Linked DNA regions of Homo sapiens: region 1 is linked to region 2. The links are contacts of gene promoters, found by promoter capture Hi-C in blood cells and fetal thymus (Javierre and others, 2016). All regions are on one chromosome and are shown on one strand. Each heading gives the region's core, a stretch centred on a gene start or on the middle of the fragment in contact. The rest is flanking DNA. Distances are from core to core; before and after follow the strand shown.

The links. The method cuts DNA at HindIII sites, captures the fragments that hold promoters and counts their contacts. A CHiCAGO score of 5 or more calls a contact.
Region 1: a contact is called between a fragment that was not itself captured here and the fragment with the promoter of CHRNA9 in region 2, in 8 of 17 cell types (naive CD4 T cells, naive CD8 T cells, non-activated CD4 T cells and 5 more). The highest score is 7.9, in naive CD4 T cells.

Annotation. Positions count from the first base shown.
Region 1 is chr4:40,070,025-40,072,945 of GRCh38, forward strand. The region is part of intron 1 of N4BP2 (NEDD4 binding protein 2); the gene reads left to right. Among named protein-coding and RNA genes, the nearest start is that of N4BP2, 15 kb to the left of the region's middle. The HindIII fragment of the contact is 6,116 bases long and covers 1-2,921 here.
Region 2 is chr4:40,333,831-40,336,653 of GRCh38, forward strand. It overlaps CHRNA9 (cholinergic receptor nicotinic alpha 9 subunit), which reads left to right and starts at 1,503. Exons shown (of 5, transcript NM_017581.4): 1 at 1,503-1,701; 2 at 1,997-2,142. The coding sequence starts at 1,638. The HindIII fragment of the contact is 7,151 bases long and covers 1-1,880 here.

The DNA of each region.
Region 1 (2,921 bases), core at 191-2,690, 260 kb before region 2:
AACTAGTTTGCTTGAAGCATGGTACATTTTAAAAACTTTCATTAGGAAAATAGAGATATAGAAAAGTAGTATGATACATTGAAACCACAGGTACCCACCTGCTTGATTCAACAATTGTTACCATTTTGCCATATTTGTTTTATCTACATATATAAATTTCCTGAACCATTTAAAAGTAAACTAAGAGGGGCAAATAAGTTTTTTTCAGTTTTCCCTTTTAAGTATCATATGATTGTATTATAAATGTATGTATTTTGGACTTTGACATTTAAAGATTTAGATTGATATTTGCTCTTTTAAAAGATTATATAAGAAGACGTATATCTTCAGATCTCGCCAAGGAAAAGGAGGACATTCTCCCTATATAGCCATAAAACCATTATCATTTCTAGCAAAATTACCAGTAATTCCCTAGTATTATACTACTTTTTGATTTTTTTTTGAGACAGGGTCTTGCTCTGTTGCCCAGACTAGAGTACAGCAGCACATTCATGGCTTACTGCAGCCTTGACCTCCCAGGCTCAAGCCATTCTCCTGCCTCAGCCTCCTGGAGTGGCTGGGGGCTACAGGCACATACCACCATGACTGGCTAATTTTTGTATTTTTTGTAGAGATGTGGTCTTGCCATGTTGCCCAGGCTGGTCTTAAACTTGTAGTCTCAAGTGATCCTCCTGCCTTGGCCTCGCAAAGTGCTGGGATTACAGGCATGTGACCTGATTCCCTGATACATGCTACTTATACTATATTCAGATTTCCTGAGTTGTTCCAAAAATGTTTTTGATTGCTGTGTGGTGTTTTTTTTTCTTCTTTTTTTTTTTGAGAGGAAGTCTTGCTCTATCACCCAGGCTGGAGTGCAGTGGCGTGATCTTCGCTCACTGCAACCTCCTTCTCCTGAGTTCATGCAGTTCTCTTGCCTCAGCCTCCTAAATAGCTGGGATTACAGGTGTCCGCCACCATGCCTGGCTAATTTTTGTATTTTTAGTGGAGACGGGGTTTCACCATGTTGGCCAGGCTGGTGTTTTTTTTTTAAATGCCAGATTTCAGTCAAGAACTACCCGTTGCATTTGGGTTGTAATCTTGAGTCTTTTTAAATATATAGGTAGAACTGTCTCTTCTACCCATCCACCTCCTTCTCTACTCTGCCTCTCCTTCCCTACTCTGCCTCTCCTTCCCTGTGGTATTGACCTGTTAGGTCTGTTGAGACGATTACATTTTGTATTGCTGCTTGTTTCCTCATGGTGTAGTATTACTTCTTCCTCTATCCCCTATATTTATTTCCTGTAAACTGGGAGTTAGATCTAAAGGTGTGAGTAGACTTAGGTTAAACAGTTTTGGAAGAGTATCTCATTTAGTAATGCTGTGTACTTCCTACTGTTTCTAGTTAAGAGGCATATAATGTCAGGTCCCACTATTTTGATGCTGTATTTGATCACCAAGCTAATGTGGTGAGAACCTGATCATTTCATTATAAAGTTATGGTTTTCTTTTTGCTTCTAGCAAGTAGTAATCTATAGGGTGGTACTTTGACATCAGGTAAATTTTTTATTTTTTATTTTTTTGAGACGGAGTTTTGCTCTTGTTGCCCAGGCTGGAGTGCAATGGTGCGATCTCGGCTCACTGCAACCTCTGTCTCTTGGGTTCAGGTGATTCTCCTGCCTCAGCCTCCCGAGTAGCTGGGACTACAGGCTCTCGCCACCACGCCCAGCTAATTATGTATTTTTAGTAGAGACGAAGTTTCGCCATATTGGCCAGGCTGGTCTTGAACTCCTGACCTCAGGTGATCCTCCTGCCTTGGCCTCCCAAAGTGCTGGGATTATAGGTGTGAGCCACTGCCCCCGGCCTCAAATTTCTTTTTTTAAAAAACATTTTTATTTTATTTTATTTTATTTTTTGACTTTTTGGAGACAGAGACTCACTCTGTCACCCAGGCTGGAGTGCAGTGGCACAATCTCAGCTCACTGCAACCTCTGCCTCCCGGGTTCAAGCGATTCTCATGCGTCAGCCTCCTGAGTAAGCTGGGACTACAAGCATTTGCCACTATGCCTGGCTAATTTTTTTTTTCTTTTTTGAGATGGAGTCTCCTTCTGTCACCCAAGCTGGAGTGCGGTGGCACAATCTCAGCTCACTGCAATCTCCGCCTTCCGGGTTCAAGTGATTCTTGTGCGTCAGCCTCCTGAGTAAGCTGAGACTACAGGCGTGTGCCACTATGCCTGGCTAATTTTTTTTTTTTTTTTTTTTTTGATATGGAGTCTCACTTTGTCGCCAGGCTGGAGTTCAGTGGCGTGATCTTGGCTCACTGCAACCTTCGACTCCCTGGTTCAAGCAATTCTCCTGCCTCAGCCTCCTGAGTAGCTGGGATTATAGGCACGTGCCACCATGCCCAGCTAATTTTTGTATTTTTAGTAGAGATGGGGTTTCGCCATGTTTGCCAGGATGGTCTTGATCTCCTGACCTCGTGATCCACCCACCTCGGCCTCCCAACGTGCTGGGATTACAGGCGTGAGCCACCGCGCTCGGCCCACCTGGCTAATTTTTGTAATTTTAGTAGAGATGAGGTTTCATCACGTTGCCCTGGCTGGTCTCCAACTCCTGAGCTCAGGCAATCCCTCCCTGTACCCCCCCAGGCCTCCCAAAGTAATAGGACTACACTCGTGAGCTACCACTCCCGGCCCCAGATAAATTTCTTTCTTTTATTTTTGTGGGACTTTTTTTTTTTTTTGGGACAGAGCCTCTCTCTGTTGCCCACGCTGGACTGCAATGGTGCCATCTCGGCTCACTGCAATCTCTGCCTCCCAGGTGATTCTCCTGTCTCAGCCTCCCTCCTGAGTAGCTGGGATTACAGGTGTGCACCACCATGCCCAGCTAATTTTTATTTTTAGCAGAGACGGGGTCTCACCATGTTGGCCAGGCTGGTCTCAAAC
Region 2 (2,823 bases), core at 253-2,752:
TGTTGCAGGGAGCACAGTGGATTGGGGCAGGTGGCCTGGATCCTGTCTCTGGCCGATCACTGCTGGAGGGAAGCCACTCTGCATCCCTGGGCCTCAGTTTCCTCATATAGAAGTGAGGCATTAAACTCAATTTCAAAATTACCTTCTGCCTCTGAGATTCTGGAGCGGATGGTTTGCTGAAGGAGGACTGAGCGTGGGCACCCGGAATTGTGTCATTTGATGAATGAGTCAGACTAGGGGCGTCAGAAAAATAATGTCTTCACAATCAACACAATGGGATAGGCAATTAAGAAACACTTTGCCGATGGCTTGAGTGTCTGTTCCACTCAGAGGATACATTCCCGAAGAGGGATGGGGTGACTCATCAGGCGGCTGTAACCTGATGAAACAGAGCTATCCAATTTCCTCGCTCCAATTCCAGGCAACCAAATTATCTTAATATGGTTTTCCAAAGCAGTTTCCCCAGGCAAGAGGAGAGACAGACATGAGTTTCCAGACTAAGCAGCAATTGAAAATTGACATTTTTTTATAGGAGTAAAATTATATCACATATGAGAAATGACTGAAACTTTATATGAAGTAGCATTCAAATGCAAAGGGTGTCATCATTAGCAATATCACCATTGGTTATTATTCTCATGCTGATTTGGTCAGCCTTTGAACCAGTTTTTCTTTTTTTTTTTCGAGCTGGTAAATCCTGGGTGACTTGGTGAGTATAGAAATTCTGGGTATGCAAAGCTGATCAAAGATGATAATTACTGATATTTAGAAAGTGCTTTCACATACAGTTATCTCAGTAGCTCTAGAGAGAGAAAATATTATTTTCCCCAGTCTGTAGTTCTGGAAGGCTCAGAGAGGTTAGGTGACTTTTACAGAATAATAGAGCTCGTCAGGGTTTGGCTGGCAGTCAAACCCAGGTGGTCAAGTCCAAATCCAACTCACAGTGTTGCTGCTTCTTAAGCGAGTGATTATCCGCCCATCCAGCACACCCCCTCACATATATACTCACAAACATTTACTATGCAAGATCCATGCCCAGTGGGACAGCTGCAGGAGGGATCAGAAGCTGAGGCAGAGAAAAAACCAAAATGCCAATATATTCTGGAGATCATAGAACCGTGTCTCTTTCCCTCTTCAAATGCTGCTAAAAGCACGTAGAGTCTTTCTGGACAGCCGTCCCATGGCTCAGTCTTTTAGGCTTCCCTTAGTCCCTGGACTCAGGCTGACTCTGCTCATGGTGGGTGTAGAAATCTCCCATTCTGCTTAGATGGAGTCTCTGGGGTGTCAGGCATACCCCTGTTGCCTGCATCTACCTCCTTTTCTGTCTGGTTGTTTCTGCTGAGGGTGGCTAGGGACCCTCAACTGAGATGGCCCCCCACAACAGCACTGTTGGACCTAACACACCCTGGGTTCCCGGCTTCTCAGCCACTGGAGCTGCCAGTCTCAAATTACCGGAGGGGAGGGAGGGCAGGCCTGGATCTCAGGATCTCGGTCCTGCATGCAATGCAAGCCTGAGCTCTCCCGCCATAAGGCTGCAGCGGTGTGGGCTCCTTGTGCCCAGATCCTTTGTATTCATAGGGGGAAGTGGAAGACCACGCTGCCTGACTGAGACTTTATTATAGAGGCTCAGGAAAAAGATGAACTGGTCCCATTCCTGCATCTCCTTTTGCTGGATCTACTTTGCTGCTTCCAGACTGAGAGGTGAGAGGCTGGTGACACGTAACCTATCTTGTCTCATCTGGGGCTATTGCTTTGGTGGGAGGTGGGGCAGGACAGGGAAGACAAAACAGATGATTCAACCGCATGGAAGTGTTCTGTGCTTCCTACTGACTCTGATCTTGGTAGGGCATGCCAGAAAAACAACTCATCCATCCACCCAAAGCTTGTCCCTCGCCAGTGTTGGGCCATCCCCCATTTTAGACCTCAGTCTTGTGTTGTTTGTCTTGAAATACACACAACACTCTGAATGTTAATCCAGATCCCTCTTGTTGAGTAGCTGCAGAGACGGCAGATGGAAAATATGCTCAGAAGTTGTTTAATGACCTTTTTGAAGATTATTCTAATGCTCTTCGTCCAGTGGAAGATACAGATAAAGTCCTGAATGTGACCCTGCAGATTACGCTCTCTCAGATTAAGGATATGGTGAGTAACACATGGTGCTGACTCTGTGGAATGATTCTTAGAGGATAAACAACCATGCTTTCTGAAGAGAATGTCTTAACTGGGAATTTGAGAGGGAATGATAGCTCCTTAAGCAAGCTGGTGGGAGAAGAGAATGTCGGGAAAAGGAAGCTTTCTACAAAACTAATTAATTTCAAGAAACGTTACCTAATCCTGGTCATTAACTGTAACAGTCTTAGATAATCTAAAGAAAGATGGGGTTACATACTGTATGCAGCCATTTATATAAAATGTCCAAAAGAGGTAAATCCGTAGAGACAGAAAACGGCATAGAGGTTGCCGGGGTCTGTGGGGAGGACGGGGAAAACGGCCAGTGAGTTCTTAATGATTACGGCGTTTCTTTGCGGGGGGAAGAAATGATCTTGAATTAGGCAGTGGTGATGGTTGCACAACGTTGTGAATATATTGGAAGCCGGTGCATTGTTCCCTTCGAAAATGATTAAAATGGTGAGTTTTAATGTGAATTTGATCTTAATTTTTTTTTTGAGACGGAGTCTTGCTGTCACCCAGGCTGGAGTGCAGTGGCATGATCTCCGCTCACTGTAAGCTCTGCCTCCTGGGTTCACACCATTCTCCTGCCTCAGCCTCCTGAGTAGCTGAGACTACAGGCACCCGCCACCACACCCGGCTAATTTTTTTTTT